2 separate regions of the Homo sapiens genome follow, and region 2 is linked to region 1. The links are contacts of gene promoters, found by promoter capture Hi-C in human tissues and cell types (Jung and others, 2019). All regions are on one chromosome and are shown on one strand. The core of a region is centred on a gene start or on the middle of the fragment in contact, and the rest is flanking DNA. Distances in the headings are between cores, read along the strand shown. Region 1 holds the start of ISL1 (ISL LIM homeobox 1). Region 2 has its middle 45 kb from the start of ISL1.

Evidence for each region. Contacts are between HindIII fragments. The study calls those that stand out against the background at their distance.
Region 2: a contact is called between a fragment that was not itself captured here and the fragment with the promoter of ISL1 in region 1, in 1 of the 25 tissues and cell types used here (adrenal gland).

What each region holds. Positions count from the first base shown.
Region 1 is chr5:51,380,188-51,385,386 of GRCh38, forward strand. It overlaps ISL1 (ISL LIM homeobox 1), which reads left to right and starts at 3,261. Exons shown (of 6, transcript NM_002202.3): 1 at 3,261-3,512; 2 at 4,354-4,543. The coding sequence starts at 3,485. ISL1-DT (ISL1 divergent transcript) reads right to left here and starts at 3,145. Exons shown (of 2, transcript NR_046243.1): 1 at 2,787-3,145. RefSeq lists an enhancer at 4,970-5,199. The HindIII fragment of the contact is 8,696 bases long and covers 1,495-5,199 here.
Region 2 is chr5:51,425,512-51,430,710 of GRCh38, forward strand. It overlaps the pseudogene LOC105379196. Among named protein-coding and RNA genes, the nearest start is that of ISL1, 45 kb to the left of the region's middle. The HindIII fragment of the contact is 4,377 bases long and covers 73-4,449 here.

The sequences.
Region 1 (5,199 bases), core at 2,011-4,510:
TCTTCCCTTCCCAGTCTTGGTTAGATGAGAAGGAATAAGCTGTCTTACTGTTTGTGATTTCCCAAAGAAACAACTTAAAATTCATTTATATCTGCCAGAGGTTATTGGGAGATAAATAAATGCTAAATGTGTAATTTTACCTTTCAATTGCAATTAAAACCTATTTAGATTTTTGAAATGTAGCTTGAGAGCATGATGTTTGTGCAGGAATCTGTATCTGACATTAAGTTTGATGTGGAATGTTTAAATGGTAACTAAAGCAGAGAAAGCAACAGTACACAAAAACACAAGTCTAAGAGCCCATCAGGAGGTTGGGTGTAACAGCCACATTTTGGAAGGTGTATACAAGGGCACATGGGCAGATGCCACAGACTCCAGAGGAACTTAAATTTCAGTATCCCTTTTATATTGAAAGACACTGTCAGATATATTGAGGCAGCCTGGAGGTGATGGGGACTACACTTAATAACTACTCATACTCCTCATTTTCTCAGTAAAGGAATCAAACCAGAGATTCACACTATTGCCGTTTTCAAGGATATATTTTTGACCTAACAATATACAAAGGTCAAAACGAGTCCTTTTTTGAGAGGAGAGGGTCTAATCCCCGCTTTGAACACAAGAGGTCGCTCCTGTGATCAAGTATTACGGATAAATTGCTCATCAGTTTTATGTATACAAAATTTTACAGATATATTTGATGCACTAAATCCACATACAGCAATCAGCTGAGGAAATCATAATAATCCATGATCAATTTAGAACTTCAAGGTAAAGTAAAACTACAAAGCCTGCTATTCTAACTTGGATTTTAATGCAAAATGTGTCATGATACATGCACTGAACTTCAGAGCATGTCCATCATGGTGGGGTCCCTCAAACGTCTCCTTTTAATGCTGGTATCTTCACCATGCGTCTTGCTTCTATCAGTTTAGGAACTTATTAAGAAAATACTTGTTTACAACAATGGTGCAGAATGAAAAGAGGAAAATGTTGTCTTCACCATTAAGGTGAAATTGTCTATTACTAAAGGTTTCCCCCAAGCCGCATGCAAGCTTTTCTACTTGGAAGTGCTATCATCTGCAATAATTCTTTGTAATAGCTTATTGGTTTAGGGAGTTAAAATACCACACTGTGGGTGGGAGGTGGGGGCTGGTTTGAAGGAGGATGGATAGTGAGGGTGCTTTGTGGATCTCAAATGTAAGTCATCAGGCTTCTGGTGGCTTCTGGTGTTTAATTCCATCTTATAAAAGTGGCATGATGGAATATGACTAGGTAAAACTCTATTTTCTGGCATTGTGGTGGTATCTTTTTTTTTTTTTTTTTTTACTAGGGTCAACATGTTTATCTCTATGGGAAACACACACAAATACTAGGAAGATTTGCTTCGTATTGAGATTAACAGCATCAGCTTTGCAAAAGCAGCCTGACAAAAGGCTCCATACATCTAATACCAGAGACTAGAAACAGACCAAAAAAAAAAAAAAAAAAAAACACACACCACACAACTGGTAAACTTATCAACCTAGGTCTATCCAACTTTCGCTTTCATACACGCGCTCTAAAACAACTTATAATAAAAATGGAAGGGAAGACAGATCCAATTTGAAATCCTCCTTGAGAAAAAACAAATCAAAACTAGTTCCTGGGGAAGAAAGCCTCAGCTAGGTCAGGAGGAAACTTACGCATCTTTGATTCCCTTTCCGCTTTGGAGAGGCATTACCCGTTCAAGCCCAGCCAATGCGGCCGGCCAGGATTTACAGCTCTTATCAAGGGTTAGATTTTGCGAAAGATATAAAGAAAGGAGTTTCCTAACACACCGGGTCTTCTCACAGCAACAAGACACCGAAATTAAGCCTTCTATGGTTTGTGTCTGTAGGACTTTTTAGATAAAACTGGCAGCCCCATTAGATAAGAAATGGCTTTTTAGAAGCTTTGGGGGAAGCGCGGGGGTTCTTCGTGGCCTTCCTGTGACTGTCTTTGGGAGACCGTAACAGATGATGGGAACATGTAAGAATGATTGAAGAAGGTTACCGGCGAGTTGCACCTAACAGTCTTCTCTCTCCAAGTAGTTTCTCGAGAGAAAATTATATATTAACGCCTGGGGACGTGAAATAGGTCTTTCACTGTTCTGTAATAAATCCCTCCCTACTCGCGCCCTTAGACTAATGCATTTTTAAAAAATCTCCACAAAGTCATGGAGACTTGTCCTTATAATTACCAAAATACCACAGCTAGTTGCACAAGTTTGCTTAAAAACAAAGGGCAGGAGACCAGCAGTGAGAAGAATTGAACAGTATATAAAAATCTTACAAACTTTAGACTACTGAAAGATCATTTCGCTCTTTGGCTTCGGGTTAGTGAGCTTCAATTCTAGAGTTAAACTGAGAAGCAGACCTCGCGGGTCTGAAAGACAAAAAGTCAGTCCGCGGAGTCAACTTCGGTTTACCGGTGCGTTCCAACCTGATTGTCCCAACAGCAAGAAGCGCCCCTTTCCTCCCACCCAACGTTTTTAGATATCTGAGGTTGGGGGAGACGGAGTAATGGTGTAGCAGTCAGGAAACAGTTCCTCTGGGTTTAATCATCCCATTCCCGATTCTTCTTCCCCTAGCGCGCCGAGCGCAGCCAGTTCTGGAGGAACTAGCCCTCCGGAGCAGCCAAGGCAGGCCAGGCCCCGGGGATGTGCACCACGGCGTGGGGACCAAACCAAGCTGAACGGCCTGCTCCAAGTTCCCCCCTTTTCCTAGAGCCCGGGAGGGACCTCGTCAACAGGTAGACCTACCCACCAGCCACTCGCCACCGGCGGCAGAAAGTGAGCCCCGCGCGCAACGCGGCCAGCCGGACTGCGGGGACCCCAGGAGCGCAGGGCGGAGGAGCAGCGCCACAGGAGGCGAGGGCGCAGGCGGCGCGGCCGGGAAGGAACGCGGGAGGGGACAGAAGGAAGAGGAAGAGGAGGAGAGGGAGGCCAGAGCCAGAACAGCCCGGCAGCCCGAGCTTCGGGGGAGAACGGCCTGAGCCCCGAGCAAGTTGCCTCGGGAGCCCTAATCCTCTCCCGCTGGCTCGCCGAGCGGTCAGTGGCGCTCAGCGGCGGCGAGGCTGAAATATGATAATCAGAACAGCTGCGCCGCGCGCCCTGCAGCCAATGGGCGCGGCGCTCGCCTGACGTCCCCGCGCGCTGCGTCAGACCAATGGCGATGGAGCTGAGTTGGAGCAGAGAAGTTTGAGTAAGAGATAAGGAAGAGAGGTGCCCGAGCCGCGCCGAGTCTGCCGCCGCCGCAGCGCCTCCGCTCCGCCAACTCCGCCGGCTTAAATTGGACTCCTAGATCCGCGAGGGCGCGGCGCAGCCGAGCAGCGGCTCTTTCAGCATTGGCAACCCCAGGGGCCAATATTTCCCACTTAGCCACAGCTCCAGCATCCTCTCTGTGGGCTGTTCACCAACTGTACAACCACCATTTCACTGTGGACATTACTCCCTCTTACAGATATGGGAGACATGGGAGATCCACCAAAAAGTAAGAGGCTATTTTACCTTGTGGGGCTCGGTGTGCTGTTCTTGTGCGGGGTTCTCTCTCAGGCACAGGCTGAGGTGCCAAGGGCTCTTTGGAGTTGGAGTCATTGCCTGGAGAAAGAGAAAAGGTGGCTTTTTCTTGTTGCCGCCACGCCTGCATGCTTACTGTCGGTTCTTATCTTCGGGAAACTGATTGTACCTTGTGTGTGAATTCGCCTGTGTGCCCTCCAAAGCTCTAGCTTTCTGGTGCTAAGCGGTGATTTCCTCCTGGGGAATCCTGAGCTCTCCGAGAAGGTTATTATGTTGCAAAGGTCTGCCTGCACAGTCAATGCCCAGAGATGTGAATTAGCATTAGACTTGCAAAAGAGAACGAGTGACAACTGTATTTATGCCTGCTCTTGCTAACAATATCCAGTCCTGTGTGCTATTTAAGAGCGCGCTTCACGGAAAATATAGACATCCCTGCGTTCACTTAACGCTTCTAGTCAAAACCTTTTCTTTGACTTGACTTATCCATAATCTTTCCCAATGATTATAGCAAAGAGGAAGGGGGGGGGGAGAAATACAAAATGAGCGGGTTTGATTGCGTGCTAGGCGTACAAATGTAGACTATTCCAATCTGCATTTTACATATATTCCACCTCCTTTTAAAAATGAGTCAAGGTTTTGATGGCACATTTCAATTACCATCCCAAAGTGCAATGCTCTAAAAAAAAAAAAAAAGAAAGAAAGAAAGAAAGAAAAAAACCTCCCAGAGTACGCCCTATAAGAGAACGACACTAAAAGTGTGTTTATCTCTGTAGGAAGTAAACGGTTAGTCAATCATGTATTTATTTTCATTTCAGAAAAACGTCTGATTTCCCTATGTGTTGGTTGCGGCAATCAGATTCACGATCAGTATATTCTGAGGGTTTCTCCGGATTTGGAATGGCATGCGGCATGTTTGAAATGTGCGGAGTGTAATCAGTATTTGGACGAGAGCTGTACATGCTTTGTTAGGGATGGGAAAACCTACTGTAAAAGAGATTATATCAGGTATGGCATTTACACTTCTTTCTTAATTTTGTGGGATTTCCCTGAATCTCCCCACTCTTTATGTATTATTTGGTGTGGCTTTGTCTTTTTGTGAAGTTTGCCTCAGTGTAGTCATACAAGCCAAAGTTACCCTGTACATGTGTTAAAAAAATCAAGCTATGCTGTTCATTTCATTCTTTAGTTGAGAAAAACAAAAACCCTTAACAGTGGTATTCATAATTCCGGGGTATTGAGGCTTGTTTAATTACTCTTGGAGTTTATGATGCACAAATTATTTTCCTCTTTCACCCTCCCCCTTACAAAACAAAATTTTAAAAAGATGGAGAAGTTTGGATTTTTAGCTTTAAAATAGGGTTGATTTTTGTTGTATAGTGCAGTGTTCTGTTTGTTTTAGTCCTTTTTAAAATTAGTAGCTTACAAATTCTTTGGTGGCATCAATGCAATAGGTGAAATAAAAGTTTGACCGAAGCATGTTTAGAGATGTACTTTGAAAGAGCGAGTACAGGTATTGCTCCTTTTATTTTTGGGGTAAGACCTCCTTCTGAGAAAAATTTAAAACCAACCTAAATATTCCTTGGAAAAAACACCGGAAACTTAATCTTTTTAAATATTAACCCTTTGGTGACATCTAACTGTCTCTTCTTTCTTATCTTATC
Region 2 (5,199 bases), core at 1,011-3,510, 44 kb after region 1:
AAATTCTTAAATACAAAATCTAAAAAGTACTATTTATTCATTTTTAATTTTATTCTAATTTGTCAAAGTTATTAATTGTCCTTTATGAAAGTATACTATTAATTTGAAGTGTTCAAAAATGTTCTGAACATTATGGGATTTCTACCTTAAATCATTAGATAGCCACAACCACTCATTGTAAAAAGCTAGTGAATATTACATATATATTTCTTCTATCATAGTATTGTAGAATCCATACATATTTTCAAAGAGTAATTTCATGAAACCAAGGCCAAGGCAGGAAAAATGAGCAACTAATATAGTTATAAGAGGCCTAAATGGGCAACTTATGTGGTGCAAAGAGGCCTAGCGTTCCCTTTTCACCAAGTCAGACCACCCAATCCATGTTAGAGTTAGGTGGCCCACCTCCATTTTGCTCGAATAAAGAGAAACATATTTTAAACTTTAGCAGTGTACTTATGTATAAAAGGTGCTGTGGGGGTCTACTTTACATGGCATAACTCTTTCCATCTTGACCTGTGGTATGATACGGTGCCACACTTGGACTTAAAACCCTTCAATGGGGCTGTGTCATCTAGAGGATAAAGATTCAACCCTTTAGCTCACATACCCAGCCTTCTTGGAGTTACAAAGTGCTTGGAATTCTTAAAAGGGGCCATGCATTTTTTTTTGTTGTAAATGCTGGCCCTTCCACCTAGAATGCCTTTATGCTTCTTGTTTGCCTGGAAAAATCTTACCCATTACTTCTTAACTCAAATGTCATACATTCAGGGAGACTTTGCAGATAACCTGTTAAAGCTAAATGCTTCTGATTTGGAAGCACCTCTTCATCGTCTTGAGACATTTATCTCATTGCTATAGGAATTGGTTTACAGGACCCCTATCAAACTTCAAACTCCATGAGATAATCATATAATCTATAGTATTTACTGAAATTCCTGGCAGTATTAACAATAGCAATAATACAAGCCATCATTTACTAGGTATTTATTACATAGTAGGCACTGTGCTGTTTTACCTAAATTATCTAGTTTAGATTATCTCCATTTTGAAAATGAGGAAATTAAGCCAAAGGGGTGGTAAGCCTGCTCATAAGGTTACATAACTAGTGGGGACTGAGACTTGGTTATTTAGCAGTTAACAAACACTCTCCCACTTCTCAGTGGTTTACAATCACTGGGGTTCATTCCTTACCCCTATTCCATGTTTATGGCACACTGGCTATCATTTTGCTTCATGATCTCTTCACTAGGGAACCCAAGCTCACAGAATTAATGTTTTATCTAAAATATTTTCAGGTATATGACAAAGATAAGAAGACATCCTGATAAACCATGGTGCACTGGCTCTTAAACATTCTACCCCGAAGTGAAAAATGTCACTTGCTCACACTTCATTAGCGAGATCAAGGCTAATCATGCTATCATAGGGTGGAGTAGTTGGATCTTTCCCCAGAGAGTAGCAGGGAGCACCCTGAACAATAATATAGTCTACTACAGATATTAATTCAGACTTTCCAGACTCTAGGGCCATATTTAACCCCTATGCTATATATTCTCCTACTACATATCTATTTGTGAATAAACACTACCAAATAGATTTCAGCTTTCCAATCTTCTAATAAGAGAATGAATGGCAAAAATAATAGAAGAACAGTACATGTAAATAATGAAATGAAAACTATCCAGATGAACGAAATAGTCTATATTACTATTTAAGTACTACTTAAATGTCATTTTTTCAAGCCCATTTCCTGGTACATTCATTGGCCAATAGAAATGCAATGAGTTACATCCAAGTTGGTTGGCAGAGATTATCACTATTTACTCTCAAAGTGAGACAAATTTATTTCATTCAGAATTTGATAACAAAGCTATCAATCACTCTGTCTGAGGCTGAAGGAGGAACATCCATTTGTTCTCCAGATATAAAACAAATATTTTTTTTTTGCTTTTAATTTACAAGGATTCCAATGAAGAATAAAGGTTGCTCTTTGGAAGGAAGAAAATATACAAATTCCTTAAATAAAATCAATAAAAAGCAAAAAGAATTGTATACTAGCCCGTACTGGTATAGCATTCTTCCAGCAGAAGACCTCAGTCATCTGTGCTATATACTTGGACCACACAGTAATTAGTCTATTGAGAATATTAATGATTGTTGGAGCCTGAATTTTTTGTGAATTCTTTTTGCCATGGAATTTAGAATATATTCCAATACTTGTTAGTGATATATCAAAGTTAAATAGACAGATTTTATTTATTTGAAATAACATGTATTTTACAGTATCTTCAGAAATGACCTTTGAGGCCATTAGGATTACAAATAGGTTTTTAAGTTTACTTGTTATTTTTGTCACTATTTATTAGACACAATCATTTATAGTTTATGAAAAATATTATTCTGATGTACACAAAAATTTTCTGATAATGTTGATTAAAAACAGCTATATCCACCTTCTTTGCGTCCACATCAATGTTTAATCTAGATTGGCTTAATCTTGAAGTGTAATTCAGTAACAATGAAGACCAGATACTTCCTGGTCATGAACCAGATAACAAAATATTCTTAAGCCTTCTGGATCCTTGGATTGCTTAACATCAATAAGGGAACCAATTTTAGATGTTATAAAAGAAACGTGTTCATGTCCAATGACGATTTCAAGCTCCTCCTGGTGAGGCGGAGGCCACAGAGCGTCATACTATTTGGTAATTTCACTGCCATTAATTATTCTCTTCAGTTCCTCCATCATATTTTTATATATGTAAGCCTCTTTTCTGATGATGACATTATCCTTGTAATTACTGTTGTTGGCACATCTCAGTTTCTTGTCTGGTTGGAATTCAATCTCCAGGAACTCATGGTCGAATTTGTCCTTGTGACTCACGTAGTAATGTAGATAAAAGTTACTCTCACGGCTTGCAAAAGGCACCCAAGATCAAAAAGCAAACTGTACCTCTGTGGTCTGTGCCCTACTCAAATAGGAGTTTTTTGTTGTTGTTTTTTCTTGTTGTTGTTTGTTTGTTGTTGTTGGTTTTTTTTTTTTTGACAGAGTTTCGCTCTGTTGCCCAGGCTGGAGTGCAGTGGCCCGATGTCGGCTCACTGCAACCTCTGCCTCCTGGGTTCAAGCAATTCTCCTGTCTCAGCCTCCCGAGTAGCTGGGATTACAGGCGTGTGCCACCACGCTCAGCTACTTTTTTTTATTTTTATTTTTAGCAGAGACGTTGTTTCACCATGGTGGCCAGACTGGTCTCAAACTCCTGACCTCAGGTGATCCGCCCACCTCCGCCTCCCAAAATGCTGGGATTATAGGCGTGAGCCACCGCACTCGACCTCAAATAGGTTTTTAGAAGATTTGTTATGATATATTGAAAACACAGATAAATAAAGGATTTTCTTCTTATCACAATAAGATTCTCCATTTTCCTAAAGTGTATTAAATTATACCTCCTTGACAGAGTGGTTACTAAGAAATATAAAATTCTAGTTTAGGAACCTCTGCCAAAAGGAAGATCAATCGGAAATTACAATGAGAAAAATGTACCCATATTGACAAAAATTGCATTAATTAGCATATCTCAGAACACATATTTATCAAATGAAGTTGGCTTTATCTGAACTGTCTAACAGAGAAGGACAGGTCAGGGGAAAGGAGTTAAGGGGAAACTCTGGTGACTGTAAGTCACCAAATAACCATATGCTCTTTCCAAGTGAGTTTTTCTCTTTTAAAAAAATTGAGTTCTCTGTAAATAAAGCTTTTTGGGGCTTGCAACATCTTCTGAGGCATCTATTTTGTCTGCCATCTCACTATCAAATCCATGTTCATATAAAACTGCAGAACCATCGTTCTTAATGTCCTCTTTAGCTCACACAAATCACTACTTTAATCTTTTGTTTAACTCTTCAAAGGTATTAAGTACATGAAAAATTAAATTATATATATATACATTTACATGCATATATGGATAACAGTGTCACTTCACAAAGTACCAAGAATTGGATAATAACTGCCTGAAAGGGAAACATTTTCATCAAAGGGATAGCAATTTATCTTGATTGACAATTTTTAAGTATTATAATACTGATTACGCTTCACCCTGCTCTGCTGTCTTAGGCTACTTTAGTTTACTTGCAATATTACTACTACTTCTGATAATGAATTTTCTAATAACACAACATGCTGCTGAAGTACATTCTTCTGGTGAATGAAGGCTTGATGGTTCTTTTCAATGGGGCCTGATACCAAGCTCTGTGCATCTCCATGTGTTGATCTCCAATGATGATAATGGGGGAAAAAAAAGTGGTCTTCTGAAAGTACAAAGCTCTTGCTCTGTTCATGCTCTAAATCCTTCAGATCAATCAGATCTTTGCACAACTCCTCCTAAGAAGTTGCCTTGGTATCCTTGCAGAGACAAACCTTGATGTAGGATTACTGAGCAAAGGCTTTCTGTTTAGAGTTACTGCTAGTTAAGGCAGCATTTACTGGGCTCATGGTGTGCCCAGAACTCTGTTCTGCCTTTTCAGGGTGACAGTGGCACCCAGTTGCAACAGCTTTAAATACTGTTTGCATTGTTTCCTCCCTACTTATGTGTATAGATTTTCATCATTTTTAATAATTACATAGTATTCCACACACTGATTAGCCATTGATTTACTCGACCTGTTTCTTATTGTTGGAACATCTTTATACATAAATTTCTGCAAAGTGCTGTTCCTACTTTCTTGGAATCTTTTCCAGATGTGTAGTTGCTGAATTAAAGTATATGTATAGTTGTAAAGCCTTTGATCTATATTGTCAAATTGCCTTCTAGAAATGTACTAATTTCTAGTTGTACTAGTCACGTATAATCAGCCAATGTCCTGCATCTTCTCCCAAAATAGGTGTTATTTTTAACATTCACTAACACTTTATAGAAGAAACTATAATGCATTTGTTAAGATAGTAAATTGTTTCTGAGTTCAATGATGTAATAACCTTTGAAATTCTATTGCCATATATTTTTCCAATGCATGCTTATTATTAAAAATCCTGATTTTAAGAATAATGATACCTTTTCTTCATCAAATGGTGAAAATGACTAAAGAAAAATGAAGAGTAAATTCTCTACTGTATAATGATTAATGGACTTCTATATTAGAAAAGCTTTCATATTGTTGGAACTTTAGCACACTGAAAGAAACTTTTGCTTCACTTGCTTT